Regions from separate parts of the Homo sapiens genome. Here all the other regions are linked to region 1. The links are contacts of gene promoters, found by promoter capture Hi-C in blood cells and fetal thymus (Javierre and others, 2016). All regions are on one chromosome and are shown on one strand. The core of a region is centred on a gene start or on the middle of the fragment in contact, and the rest is flanking DNA. Distances in the headings are between cores, read along the strand shown. Region 1 holds the start of NKX3-1 (NK3 homeobox 1). Region 2 overlaps ADAM7-AS1 (ADAM7, ADAMDEC1 and ADAM28 antisense RNA 1). Region 3 has its middle 64 kb from the start of ADAM28. Region 4 overlaps LOC107986931 (a long non-coding RNA gene).

Region 1 (3,741 bases), core at 512-3,011:
GGGAAGGCAGTTTTTGATCATAATGGTTGTCACCTGAGCTGGCATTACCAAAAAGCTGGGCTCCAGCTGCCCACGCAGTACAGGTATGGGTAGTAAGGATAGCTGTTATACACGGAGACCAGGGAGGCCCGGGAGAAGGCCTCCTCTTTCAGGGCCGGCAAAGAGGAGTGCTTCTCCAAGTCTCCCAGCTCCGAGGAGAGCTGCTTTCGCTTAGTCTTATAGCGTCTGTTCTGGAACCATATCTTCACTTGGGTCTCCGTGAGCTTGAGGTTCTTGGCCAGGTGGGCCCGTTCAGGGGCCGACAGGTACTTCTGATGGCTGAACTTCCTCTCCAACTCGATCACCTGAGTGTGGGAGAAGGCAGCTCGGGAGCGCTTCTGCGGCTGCTTAGGGGTTTGGGGAAGCCTTGGAAGGGCGCCTGAAGTGTTTTCAGAGTCCAACAGATAAGACCCCAAGTGCCTTTCTGGAAAGGAGAGTGGGGAAGGAGGGATGGGAAGACAAAAGTTACATGTTAGCAGGGAAGAGAACAGAATTCAATCCACCCTTATCTCTTTAGTGAGTGAACAAACAGCCCACTGTCATCGTGGATACATTTCACTTTTTTCACATGACTAAGGAGCTCTCCGGAGTGAAGAGTGAGTAAATATGTTTATTACGCATTCATTTGCTAAGAATCATCAAGAACCCAAAGTTAGAGACGTTTCGTGGTTGAACTTTCTCCCTACTGTCTAGTAGAATTATATGGGGATTCTGGATCTGTGTGCTGAGGAGAGGCGGGAGAGGGAGGCAGGGAAAATGCCGTGGAACAAGATACCCGGGAAGGCCAGACCAAAAGACATCCGGTGTTAGGATCCAGGTGGGCAAGAGAGGGCTTGTGCCACTGGAGACGCAGAGGCAGGCTCATTCTGGGCTTTAATTCCCTCTTCGCTAAACGAGGCGTTCGGTCGCCTCATCAGAAGTGACAGGAAAGAAAATAAGTGGACTCTCTCTCCTGGACACCGGAGGGAACCCCGAATATACCGCTTTACTGCCCACGGGATTGGGAAGCACACGGAGGCTTTGCTGGTCAACCCCTGCTTTGTCACTGTTAATAAGTTATTATTAGTTCTCATAACTACCGGGGGGCTGGCGCCGATCGCGGGTGGCGCGGGGCGGGATCCGCTCCTGGGACGGTGGAGGGCGGTGGCGCTGCAGTCGCGCCGGCTTCTGAGCCCCAGGGAGCGGAGGGCACGGAGCCGGGCGAGTCCTGCGGTGTCAGAATCCTGCGCCGCCCTGACGCTGGGGCTCAGGGTTCATTCCGGGGGCGCGCGCGTGGCTGCGGAGGCGGGAAGGTCCCTCTGCCTGTCGCCGCGGAGCCCCGCGTCCCTGCACCCCGAGCTCTGGGGGTCCGCCTTGGGCTGCCCCCCTTCCCCGGCCTCGCCGCTTACCTGGCTCGGTCTCTGCCAGCGTCTCGGCCTCCTCCGGCGCGGCGCGGGGCCCGGTGCTCAGCTGGTCGTTCTGCGCCCCGGCGCGGCTGCGTCCTCCCTCTGGCTCTGGCTCTGGCTCCGGCTCCGGGTCGCGCTGTCTCTGGCTGCTCGTGCGGCCGCCTTGCCGCTGCGCGCCGTCCCGCAGGATGTCCTGGATGAGGAAGGACGTGAGCGGCTTGGACGGGGTCGGCGGCGCGGCCCCCTCCGCTTTCGCCTCCCCGGGCCGCGGCTCCGGAACCCTGAGCATCCCGGCGGCCCCGCCTTGGCCTGAATGCACCCGCCCGGCCCGCACCGCTTTCACTTTCCGCCTCCCGGCTCGCTTATAGCCCAGGGGAGCGGGCCGCGCCGCCCTCCCATTGGCCGCGGGACGGGCCGCGCCGCGGATTGGCCGCCCTGAGCCCCAGGTGACCCCGCCGATCTGCGAGCCCTGAGCACTGCCCCGCTCCGCTCCTCCCTAGGGGATTCCTTCCCCAGTTCCCTCTCCTTCCCCAATTCCCTCTCCTTCCCCAATTTCCTCTCCTTCTCCAGCTCTCCTCCCTCCGCCCTGAGCCGTTTTCCCAGGCCAGGAGCGCACCCCAAAGCGGGGCTCCTCTGCCCCAACCCACCCGCAACAGAGAGAAGCTCCTGGGGATGGGACGATCAAGACAAACAGTCCAGTTAGCTCTTCAGGACCGTCAGAGCCAATTACAGGGGATGAGCACGCAGTCACTGCAGCCGCGCGGTACCGTGAGAGTTCTGGGTGCTCTCTCTCTCTGGGAGAGATGGTGCAAACTCAGATCTGCAATATCTACGACCTCAAAGAGGCATGACAAGTAGGTGCAGCCAGACCCCAGGCTGAAAGAAGGAAAACACCTTTGCCAAAGCCTTTTCCCGTTGCAGAAGTGGTTTTCTTTGGTGGTTCCTTTATCCGCAATAACCTGTTAACTTTCCTTCCTCCCCAGACACATGACATACCATCCTTTTGAAAAGTTTCCAGACGGATGGAAGGCGTTTTAGGCCAGGACAAATGCAAAAACTGCATTTAAAAAAGTAGTTCAAAAGAACATCAGCATACTCTTTTTGCAGATTACCAACTGTTAACATGTAACCCATTGGCTAAACAATGGGTTAGCCAGATTGGTCCAACCGGTACTGTGACTGGACTGGACGGTACCGTGACAACAGACGAAAGTGGAACAGAGATGATGGAAGTATTTTCTTTCCTTGTCTTTTCTCTTCTTTTTTTTACGGACAGGGTCTCCCTCTGCCGCCCAGGCTGGAGTGCAGTGATGCCATCATAACTCACTGCAGCCTCGATTTCCTGGATTCAAGTGATCCTCCTGCCTTGGCCTCTCAAAGTGCCAGGACTACAGGCATGAGTCTCAGTGTCAGGTCGATGATGGAAGTATTGAATTAATGTTAAATTTACTGAAATTGCACATTGTACTGTCAGTGTACAAGAGAATATTTTTAGGAAATAAACACTGAAGTAAGTAGGAGCAAAGGCACAAGATTTATGAAACTTACATCAAATGGTTCTGAAACAAGGATGCAGATTGATAGATCCCACGCCATAAAGCCGATGGGTTAAATGGTAACAGTTGGTAATCTGGAAAAAGGGTAGGCTGATGTTTTTTAGAACCATTTTTTTAATGCAACTTTTTTGTCTGTCCTGGTCTAAGACGGCTTCTATTCAACTGGCAACTTTTCAAAAGGATGGTATGTCATGTGTCTCTGGAGGAAGGAAAGTTAATAGGTTATTGCTGATAAAGCGACCGCCAAAGAAAACTACCTGTGCAACGGGAAAGACTTTGGCAAAGCTGGTTTTCTTCTCTCATCTTTTCAAAGTCTCTTTATATTAGAACATTCTTTAATGTTTTCTTTTGAATCATTGTAGATTCACAGGAAGTTGCAAAAATAATACCTCCAGTGTCCTCCAAAGACATCTATACAACTGTAGGACAATGTAGAAAACAGGAAATTTACGTTGGGACATTACAGTTAACTAGACTACAGACGTCATTTATTTATTTATTTAGAGATAGGGTCTTGCTCTGTTGCCCAGGCTGGAGTGCAGTGGAGAGATCATGGCTCACTGCAACTTCAACCTCCTGGGCTCAGGAGATTCTCCCACCTCAGCCTCCTGAATAGCTGGGACTACAGGTGTGTGCCACCCTGCCCAGTTAATTTTTGTAGTTTTTGTAAAGATAAGGTTTCACCCTGTTGCCCAGGCTGGTCTCAAAGCCCTGGGCTCAAACAATCCTTCCGCCTCCACCACCCAAAGTGCTGAGACTAC
Region 2 (3,741 bases), core at 902-3,401, 740 kb after region 1:
GGGGTAAATACCCAAAATTCATCCTCTCACACCAGGGAAATCGAGGATGTGGATGCACAAGAAGTGAGTTTAAGAGCGGAGGTTTGGTAGGCGAAAGAAAGAGAAGAGAATAGCTCTCTCTCACAGAGAAAAAGGGGTTCTTGAGTGGGTCTTCTGGTTCTATGGTGAAATGCATGGGGTTTTATAGATGGGCTTGAGGAGAGAGTGTCTGATTTACATAGAGCCGAAAAGATTGGTCGGGCCAGGTGTGCCACTCACATAGCACGAAGAAGCTGACCATCCTACCCTAATCTTTTATTATGAAGATGGGGTCTCTACCTGTCCATTACCATGTTGCCTTTTTTTTTTTTCTTTTTTCGCAGAGTCTCCTGCTTTGGCCCAGGCTGGAGTATGGTGGTGTGATCTTGGTTCACTGCAACCTCAGCCTCCCAGGTTGAATTGATTCTCCTGCCTCAGCCTCCCTAGTAGCTGGGATTACAGGCGCTTGCCACCACGCCCAGCCAATTTTTGTATTTTTAGTAGAGACAGGGTTTCACCACGTAGGCCAGGCTGGTCTCGAACTCCTGACCTCAGATGATCTGCCTGCCTGGGCCTCCCAGAGTACTGGGATTATAGGCGTGAGCCACCGCACCCAGCCTGCCTTTTTACTGTACACATGGCAACAAAGAAAACTGAAGAGGGAACCTCCATTTTGAACAGGCCTGCCCCCAGGTAGCCTTTTCCTATTGGCACAGTTGCCGGCATTCACCTATACAAGCTTCTAGCTTGCTTCTTTATGTCTACAGCTCAATTTTACAGGCTGCTGTTTGTTAGAAAAGACATTATTTGGAGGAGAAGACGCGGTTTGGTTTTTGGCCTCAGCAATAACACCACACATCTACAACCATCTGATCTTTGAAAAACCTGACAAAAACAAGTAATGGGGAAAGGATTCCCTATTTTATAAATGGTGTTGGGAAAACTGGCTAGCCATGTGCAGAAACCTGAAAAAAATCCCTTTCTTACACCTTATACAAAAATTAACTAAAGATTGATTAAAGACTTAAACATAAGACCTAAAACCATAAAAACCCTAGAAGAAAACCTAGGCAATACCATTCAGGACATAGGCATGGGCAAAGATTTCATGACTAAAACACCAAAAGCAAAGGTAACAGAAGCCAACATTGACAAATGGGATCTAATTAAACTAAAGAACTTCTGCACAGCAGAAGAAACTATCATCAGAGTGAACAGGCAACCTACAGAATGGGAGAACATTTTTGCAATCTATCCATCTGACAAAGGGCTAATATCCAGAATCTACAAAGAACTTAAACACATTTACAAGAAAATAACAACGCCATCAAAAAGTGGGCGAAGGATGTGAACAGACACTTCTCAAAAGAAGACATTTATGCGGCTAACAAACATATGAAAAAAGGCTAATCATCACTGGTCATTAGAGAAATGCAAATCAAAACCACAATGAGATACTATCTCATGCCAGTTAGAATGGTGATCATTAAAAAGTCAGGAAACAACAGATGCTGGATAGGATGCACAGAAATAGGAAGGCTTTTACACTGTTGGTGGGAGTGTAAATTAGTTCAACCATTGTGGAAGACAGTGTGGCGATTCCTCAAGGATCTAGAACTAGAAATACCATTTGACCCAGCAGTCCCATTACTAGTTATATACCCAAAGGATTATAAATCATTCTACTATAAAGACACATGCACACATATGTTTACTTCAGCACTGCTCACAATAGAAAAGACTTGGAACCAACCCAAATGCCTATGAATGACAGACTGGATAAAAAAATGTGGCACATACACCCCATGGAATACTATGCAGCCATCAAACAGAATGAGTTTATGTTCTTTACAGGGACATGCATGAAACTAGAAACTATCATTCTCAGCGTCATGCACCGGGGCCTGTGGCGGGGTGTGGGCCTGGGGGAGGGATAGCATTAGGAGAAATACCTAATGTAGGTGACAGGTTGATGGGTGTAGCAAACCACCATGGCACGTGTATACCTATGAAACAAACCTGCAAGTTCTGCACATGTACCCCAGAACTTAAAAGTATAATAAAAAAGATATTATTTGAGGATTGCTTTTTATTAAAAGGAAAACCAAGAACTCTTCCCCTTCCTATCTGCCTAAGTAAGTTATTTCTAGCTTCTGTATCAGTTTCTCTTTCATAATGATGAAATGTAGGGGTTTATTTTTGAATGTTATTCCAAACTTGTATTTCTAGGATAAACTCCACCTGCTCATGTTATATTATTCATTCATATATTGCTATATTTCATTTATTTATATTTTTAACTATTTTCTTGCTCTCTTCATAAGAGATAAGCCAACTATTTTTAAAAAATATTTTTGTATGGTTTTGGTAATAGGCTAATTCTGATCTCAAAATGTAATTGTGAATATTTTCTTTCATGCTCAAAATTTTAGAAGAGTTCATGTAAAATTCTTAAGATGCTGGCATGAATTTCACCAAGGAAGTTATCTGGGTCTTGAGTTTGCATTGTGGGAAGGTTTAAAACTACAAATTCCATTTTTCTAGTGGCTATATCTATTCAGATTTTCTATATCTTGATTAATTTGTTTTAACAACTTGAATCTCTTAAGGACTTTCCCCATTTCATGTAGATTTTAAATATTTGTTAGCATAAAGTGGTGCTGATCATAATCTCAAACACTTACCCAACGGTGTTGATATTCAATCACCAGTATTGTTTCTACCAAATTTGCGGTCTGTACATGAGGGTATGAGAAAATGCGTTTCACAAAACAACCTAGAAGCATGGCAGAGAAGGTAGGAAAGTTCAATAGGAAATGCTGACATCAATGCACATCAATTCATAGAAAAATTTCAGAAAGAACACAGCCACATAGAAAATGAATGTGAATGTATTTTCCAAAAGCTATGCCTTAAGAGAGAGGAAAAAAAGCAGATATTCATCATTATGCAAGACTTCAAAATACAGTTAATAATCATAAAAGTCAGTCAGTTCTTAGGAACTACTTATGTTCCTACCATAATCTGTGTCTGTAGTATACTTTTTCACATGTCCAATTTTTCTATTTAATTTTTCCCCTCTGTTTTAAATGGTCAGTGTTATTTTTTACAATTTGCTATGCTGTGTATTTCATTATTACACCATTTCCAACACTAAAGGTGTAAATTGTGTAAAGACTTTTAGAAAGTTTTTATATCTAAAATCTATCTAATCCACAGAAACATAAAAACATTTTCTCCATATTCCACAGAAATATAAAGGTAAGATCATAAAACCTATATTAACAAGAAAAATGGGTTAAAGTAGCACCAGGTAAAGTTCTTAAAATTCTCTTTTCTAGTAAACCCCATAGATCAACTAGTTTTCTAGTTAATTAATTCTCCCTGCAGGGTAAAACACATTCACATGTAGGCCTGCGCATGTACACATGTAGAAAACAAATGAAAAAAAAAATCCATTATTTTTACTAAAAAAAGTGACTATATCGTTTTATGTTTCTGTTTTACTTTCATCTAGGAAATTAAAATAAGCTTCACAGAATTAGAGAATCAAAATAGTTTGTTGTAAATTAGGAGGAAACATTCATTTGATTGACCTAAAATGTGCTCTCAGTAATTTTAGTCTTCAGATAAAGTACTTTTTCTCAGAGCATGCGGTTGAAGTCAGATTTCATTATTAGAAAAAGAGAATTTTAGAGCTACAAAAGAACTTCAATGTCTAAC
Region 3 (3,741 bases), core at 516-3,015, 550 kb after region 1:
AAACCCAAATCAATCACTGGAATTTCTCAAATTCAACAAAATGTGGAAGAGGGAAAGAAGTAAGAGAGAAAGAAACGTGTTTTGATTTGTTTCCATTTCAGGACATGCAGAGTCTCTGAAATGTGTATTTTCATAAAATGAAGATCAGCTAATTGCAAACGTATTCATCCCCTCACACGTTTGGACAAACCCTTTATATGACAGGTATTCATTAAGGTCATATGCATTATTAAGCAGGCCCTATTCAAGCACCATCTGCAATGTAAAGAAAATATATATATATTTATTGAAAACAGATGACCCTCGAGGGTGTAAACTTGCAAAGTCGCAGTCTCAAACATACCTATGAGTAAATGCCCACGTATTAATTTTGAAGTTAGAGACCGTGCTTCATACTTTGAAAAAACTCAAGACCTTGAATTTGTAGGAGAGACCCGAAATGACTCTAGAGGAAGACAGCATCTTAGTCGTGTATTACATACCAGTCTTTGCAAATGCTCTCACTGGAATCATTCACTATAGCAATATTATTCGTCGATGATTAAGCCACAGACCTAATTGTCTATTAATCAAATTATCTTTCTTAACGTTTCTCTACTAATTCACCTTGGCACATTTGTTTGTTTTTATTTACTCGTTTTGAGATGGAGTTTCACTCTTGTTGCCCAGGCTGAAGTGCATTGGTACAATCTTGGCTCACTGCAACCTCCACCTCCTGGTTTCAAGCGATTCTCCTGCCTTAGCCTCCTGAGTAGCTAGGATTACAGGTGCCTGCCACCATGCCCAGCTAATTTTTGTATTTTTAGTAGGGATGGGGTTTCACCACGTCAGCCAGGCTGGTCTTAAACTCCTGACTTCAGGTGATCTACCCGCATCGACCTCCCAAAGTGCTGGGAGGCACATTTATTTAACACATTAAACTCTGGAATAATATTTTCTTTAGCAGTACTAAAGTTTAGCTTTTTAAAGTTCAATTTGTTCTTTTTTAATTATTATTTTTTATTTTTTTCTTCTTTTTTTGATATGGAGTCTCGCTCTGTCGCCCAGGCTGGAGTGCAGTGGCGCGATCTGGGCTCACTGCAACGTCCACCTCCCGGGTTCAAGCGATTCTCCTGCCTGTTCTTTACTTTTGTTGTCATCTTGGACGAAGAAAAGATGAATGACTTACATTACAAATTTGAGTAGATTTGTTTAAGGATGTAGCTAAGATTTTTTTTAAAGCTATGTTGTTTTCATGATGTACTTTGCAAAATAATACATTCCACTTGACATCTTATAATTTGATTATATAATTTTTAAAATTTGGTTTTACTTCCTTCCTTGGCTCTGGGAGGAGTGTGATTTCTTTCCCTTGCAGAATGAATATTTCCATTTAATCTATTCGAGTTTGGGCCTCTGACTTCTCAGCTTATTGTTTCTAAGGAAATGTGCAGGAAACGTCACATATCAGCTTTTGAGAGTAAAAATAATGAATGGACGTTTGAAATGAGTAAGAATTAGTCTTACCCTCTGTCCCACCTAGGCCACGTGTTTGCCTTGTGCCTCATTTCCCACAACTGGAAGCTCCCAGCTGAATAATCATATCCCAACATGCTGAGTTAATTGAAGAAAGGTGCTATATAAACACGAGGTACCATTATTATGGTCATTTTCCCAGGCCTTGGGCTTCCCCACCCACTTCCTCTAAATTTACAATGAAATAAAAAACGTAGCCTCCAAGTGGATGCAGATTTGAGAGCAATGTCTTTGGCGCCCTCTCGTGGTCGCCTCTATGTAGAAATCACTTGGGTGATGGAGGCTTAGTTGAAGGCAGAAATTCCCTTCAAGCCCGTTTAGAGGGGAAAAGATACGGTAGAGGCACATAATTCCTTTACATCAGTATTTTTAAACAAAATTATCATGTATAAAAATATCAAGCAGTCTTCACTATATTTAAAAATAACATTAGCATGGCTTCTGAATGGGAAAGGTACAAGAAATATTTTTCTTGACAACCTAGTCACTCAACAAGTTGCTACTAGGGCAAATCTTTCTATCCTGAAACTAGAGGCTACGTTATGAATGCTGGAGAATATGTGGAAGTACTTAGCAACCAGGACCTCTAGTAATCAGCCAGTACTTTATAAATGCTTCTTGAATCTGTGTATTGTCTCAAATCCACCATGATCTAGCTGGGTGAGGTCAAACAAACCATTTGCACTGGCTGACCTACAATTTCTTCATTCCTAAAAACAAAGCATTGAACCAAATTGGTGGTTTCTAAAATTATCAATTGGTTTAATCAGCTGAGCCCCTTTTTATGGATGAAATATTCCACAGAATGCAAAAATACAAAATAAAATGAAAGACTGTGGAACCATTCCACCTCAGGCTGTGTTGAGGAAGCTGAGCTTGGCCAACTTAGATCTTCATTTCCCCCAAAGTCTCTTTGGAAGCCTGATACGACCCTAGAACTGCGTGGGACACAGTTCAAAAATCATTTTTACTAGTCATCTCTATTGTTTAAGCTCTAATTTTAAAACTGCCCTAAAATATTATTTTATTAGTTTGCTACTAGGTACTTAATTTTTTTCTTTTTTTCAGACAGAGTCTCCCCCTGTTGCTCAGGCTGGAGTGCAATGGCATGATCTCGGCTCACTGCAACCGCCGCCTGCCAGGTTCATGCAACTCTCCTGCCTCAGCCTCCCGAGTCGCTGGGATTACAGGCATGCACCACCACGCCTGGCTAATTTTTTGTATCTTTAGTAGAGATAGGGTTTTACCATGTCAGCCAGGCTTGTCTTGAACCCCTGACCTCGTTATCCACCCTCCTCAGCTTCCCAAAATGCTGGGATTACAGGCGTGAGCCACCGCGCTGGCCGGTACTTAAATTTTTAACCTTTCTATTGCTCTCTAGTATTTTTTTTTTTTACTTCAATCATTAGTGTGTGCACAGAGGTGGTGAGGTTAAATAAAAAGGCACTCCCAAGCCTCCCGTGTATCCTCATAATGCTTTTGACATTTCATGAGTCTACAAATACTTCTATTTAATCACACATACTCCTGAGTATCAGATACTCAACTTGATGCTGGATTTTAGCAGGACAAAGAAGCTGATTGAAGTGTAATCCAGTGGACAGAATGTTGAAGGCTAGAAAGTACTATCATATAATATAACTGGATAAGACCAAAAAATGTATATGAATGCTGACATTTATGTGACAAAGTAGTCTACATTTTATAGCTGTTCAGAGAAAAGGGAGAGCAGTATGTTTTGCAGGAATCAAAGGACAAAGTGAGATGAGCTTAGCCTATAAGAATAGATGACCTTGGATACTCAAAAGGATCAGAGGCAGATTTTAAAAGTCTTGATAAAATGTGGGCAGGATTGAATGTAAAGAACCTAGCTTTGTGAGGCCATGGGTATGCAGGGGGACCATAGGCTTTAAAATCAATGGTTCCATTGCTTCACCCTGGCTCTACTTTTTTGTCAATGAGAGAATGTTAGTGAAGACACAACAATATGTGACACTAAATAGTAATCTATTTTCCTCCCTTAAAGGATGATACAAAGAAAAAAAAAACCTACTCTGTTCTCATATATGTACTTTTTATCATGTAAAACATAAGATTATAACATATTTACAATATAAGTTCACAAAGTATATTTAGAAAGGTTATTTAAGTTTTAACCTTTAAACAGATAATTCATTTTTAAATTTATTTTTAATACATAAATCAATGATGTTAAGTGTTGGTATA
Region 4 (3,741 bases), core at 582-3,081, 520 kb after region 1:
CTTAACTGTCAGAGTCCCGTGCATAAATAAAAACAGATGTACCCATTGGTGAAGTTAGTTAAAACTAATTAAACTTCAAGATTTTACCTGTGGGGGAAAGACAGACATTTCTTAAAAATAAACACCTTGGGAACCTGTATCCGTAAAACCTTATAGTATGAAACAGAGCATATAACTATGCCCACAAGGGACTTGGAATCCATAACTAACTGCAACTTGGCTCTTGATTTATACTTCAATCCATGACAACATTAGGTGTATGGACAAAATCACTTTTTGCTGGGAAAGCCAGGGAAATGTGACAGTAATTTTAACTGACTTGTTTTGTAGTGATCTTAATCTAATTCATAATGTAATTGGTAATTGGTGTAATGCTGGTATAATTATAAGGTTAATTTAATGGATTTTTACTAAACCTATAACACTGATATTGATGACCAAATATATTGTCAGATTGAATTAAAATCTTTACAAGATTTTCTTCCAATAGAAGCTGATTGGGCAAAGGAGGAACTAGATTTATTAACAATGAATTAATCGTTCCATTGGATCAATCCATTGATACCCTTTATAAAGTTTACATTTTAGTGGCAGAGGGTTGTCAAATTGTTGTCAAGCTTGTGCATGACTATGAAGAAGTTTGCACTGGAATCTTCTAGAATCTTTGGCAAACTGAAAGCTTTCTTTACAGTTATACCCACACTTTTTGTTGATACAAATAAATAGTATTCTAGCAGTTGTTCTTTCTTTTTTTCTGTAAATAATATGAAAGATAGAGGGAAAGGAACACCCATCAGCAATTTGTACTTGCAATGCTTTGACCAAGAGTTAGAAGGCTGTTGGAATAGAGCTGACTTACAACTGTACTGGAAATATTCTGTTTTTAATCTTTGGGGATATTTAGACATTGGAAGTTTTTTACTCTTAAGGTCAGTGGCATTTATGATGTACTGTTTAGGGACCGAAACATCCTTGCCATATTCCAAGTTTACCTTCTTAACTTATGGTTAGGCAACAGGACTAACTGGTCTGATAAGCCTGGTTTGACTAAAAGAGCTACTGAGATTTTTTTGGAGTGCTCCCCTGGAGCCAAGGTTTTTTACACAGATGACAGTTCAAATCATGGACACACTAGGACACTGCCCAGTCCTAATATGCAGATGGAGCCCTGGGGAGTTCAAGCTATGGGATATCTCTGGAGACTTCCAATACCTGCTTGCATTCTCTTTCTCATGTATCCTTTAAAAGCCTCAAGTGAGTACATATTGAGTGGTGATATTTCTTTTGAAATATTCAAACTAGATATGTATATGCACACTGGACATGATGTTTTGTTGGAAAAGGTAGGAGTCACCAAAGCAGTTTCTTATAAGACACAAAAGATTTGGGGCTGCTTATGTTTAGACAGCAGGTATTATTCACTCATCAGAACCAGTAATGCCCAGGACCAAATGGGTTTAGGATCAGCCCAATAGCCTGCAAATCAGGTCAGTAGGGGAAAAAAAAAAAAAAAAAAAAAAAAAGGAAAATAAAATATAACCTCAGGGGAGTCCTGAGGCCTCTAATGAACCTGGTTTTTCAAATACTCATTTATTTAGAGTCTTCTATTAGTTGCTTTTGTATTCTGTTTGAAGTGTTAAGTTATAATTAGCAGGAGAAAAGAAGTAGAATGCTCTTAATCTCATCCATCATTGAAAGCCCCATGGAAATCTACTTTAAAACATAACTCAAATTGTGTGACTCTACTTACCCTCCAATGGATTGCAATTACACTTAGAATGAAATCTACCATTTTCCCATGGCTTCAAGGACTCTGCTGAATGGCTCCTGCCTACTTCTTCACTTATGATGGCTCCTTCCCTAGCTCTGTGCTCTCCTACCACAGTGGAATTCTTCCCGATCCCGGAAGATGCCAAGCTGATTTCCACATAGGGATTTTATACTTGCTATTCCTCTGCCTGAATATATATCTTTTTCCAGATACATAATCACATACCTGGCTTATTCCTTACAGTGGTAAAGGAATAGAACTGGAAGATAAATCCTCATCAAAACTATATATAATGTTAGATGCAGATGGACTAAAGGTCAAATTTTAATGGTAAACCATAAAGTTATACAATGTATTTCTGTCTAGAATTGATGAGCAACTCCTTGACATTCAGGATCAGGACATAAACTAAAATATTCTCTGCAACACTTAACTAAGATGCTATTTGAAAAAAAAAAACGTACATTAGGTACTTGGTATTTTATAACTTTAAAATAATTAACACTTGAGATTTGATAAAAACCTCAAATGCAGAAAGCATCAGGGCAAAATGTATTTACATAAAAATTAAAGATTTATCTTAAATATAGAACATTATGGAAAATTTAGACTGAGAGAAGATGTTTGCAATGTCTAAAATTGACAAGGGATTAATATATAAAAGTTATAAGAAACACTTGCAAATAAGAAGAAAAAGACATGAACCCTAATAGAAAATGGGTAAGAGGTTTGAACAGGAATTCACAGAATAGAAGATCTCAAAGAGATGCTCAATTGTATTAAAAATAAAAATAGAAACATCCATAATTATCACTTTATGTCTGTCAGAGGGTGATAAATTAGACAGTTGGTAGTGGGGAGTGTGGCTGTGGATATATTATGCCCTTTTCATGGAAGGGTGGTACAGCTTATTTTGCATAACCACCCAGCAATGTTTAGTCTAATTAAATCCATCTATTCCCCATGACCCACGGATCCTTCTCCAAGGCATATGATCCTAGAGAAACTCAAAAACATGCCCTCTGATACTCACTGCAGCAGTATTTGTGTTAGTGGGTAGTAGAAATGTAGAATGTCCATCACTGGAGAAGCCATTAGGTGTGTGTTGTAGGTAAACCCCATGGAGGATGAGTCTGAGTTAATAATAACACACTAGATATACACACAGAAACATGGATTGACCCTAAAAGCAGTGATGAAGGGCAAAACTAGGAAGCTTAACACAATCCTTAAAAAAATTAAATTTAAAATTCAAAATTACATGTCTACAAAACAGCAATGAATATAAGAACAAGTAAAAAAGGCTATACATCATTTAGAATAGTTGAGACATAGTGAGATATGAGAAAATTGAGTAAATGCACAAATAAATCAATGGATGAATCAAAAACAAGAAACCAGAAGAACAGGTTGTGCAGCTCAATGATGACAATGTTCCATTTACTGAAGACTATGATTACATTAGCTCTTTGTACCAAGGATTCCTCCTACCCACCAAAATACACACACACATGCACACATGCACACACGTGTGCTATCTCAAAGAAACAGCCAGTATTAGTCCCTTTACCTTCAAGATCAAGACAAAAATGAAGATTCTCTTCAACACTTAATATGCTATTTGAAAAGCAATACATTAGCTACTCAGTAATGTGACAGCTTGTAAGTGGGGTATTGTAATTTGGCCATATTCATTCTGGCCTATTTCATTTTTACTTGTTTTACAACTTAAAAATATAAGTAAACAAATATCATTGAATACCAATATAGAGCAAATACAGTCTTAAGAACTAGAAATATATCTGTGTACAAAAGAAACAAATATATTGGATGAATTTTAAGTGTTATGGAGATATGATCAAGATGTTTCTAAATAATTTCACTCTTGTTTAGAAATTGTATACAGTGTTTAACACTTTCAATGTATATATATATTTCTCAACTGCTTTATTAAGGTATAATCCACAAAA

What was found. Contacts are between HindIII fragments. The CHiCAGO score rates a contact against its expected background, and 5 or more counts as called.
Region 2: a fragment that was not itself captured here is called in contact with the fragment with the promoter of NKX3-1 in region 1 in 1 of 17 cell types (total B cells); the score reaches 5.4 in total B cells.
Region 3: a fragment that was not itself captured here is called in contact with the fragment with the promoter of NKX3-1 in region 1 in 1 of 17 cell types (M1 macrophages); the score reaches 5.1 in M1 macrophages.
Region 4: a fragment that was not itself captured here is called in contact with the fragment with the promoter of NKX3-1 in region 1 in 1 of 17 cell types (total B cells); the score reaches 6.0 in total B cells.

The regions. Positions count from the first base shown.
Region 1 is chr8:23,681,177-23,684,917 of GRCh38, forward strand. NKX3-1 (NK3 homeobox 1) reads right to left here and starts at 1,762. Exons shown (of 2, transcript NM_006167.4): 1 at 1,428-1,762; 2 at 1-463. The coding sequence starts at 1,713. The coding sequence ends at 45. All of the region lies in intron 3 of LOC107986930 (a long non-coding RNA gene), which reads left to right. RefSeq lists silencers at 1,344-1,393, 1,434-1,943. The HindIII fragment of the contact is 16,626 bases long and covers 1-3,741 here.
Region 2 is chr8:24,422,255-24,425,995 of GRCh38, forward strand. The region is part of intron 1 of ADAM7-AS1 (ADAM7, ADAMDEC1 and ADAM28 antisense RNA 1); the gene reads right to left. Among named protein-coding and RNA genes, the nearest start is that of ADAM7, 17 kb to the right of the region's middle. The HindIII fragment of the contact is 2,792 bases long and covers 756-3,547 here.
Region 3 is chr8:24,227,777-24,231,517 of GRCh38, forward strand. No RefSeq gene overlaps it. Among named protein-coding and RNA genes, the nearest start is that of ADAM28, 64 kb to the right of the region's middle. The HindIII fragment of the contact is 7,534 bases long and covers 1-3,741 here.
Region 4 is chr8:24,197,095-24,200,835 of GRCh38, forward strand. All of the region lies in intron 2 of LOC107986931 (a long non-coding RNA gene), which reads left to right. Among named protein-coding and RNA genes, the nearest start is that of ADAM28, 95 kb to the right of the region's middle. The HindIII fragment of the contact is 2,308 bases long and covers 678-2,985 here.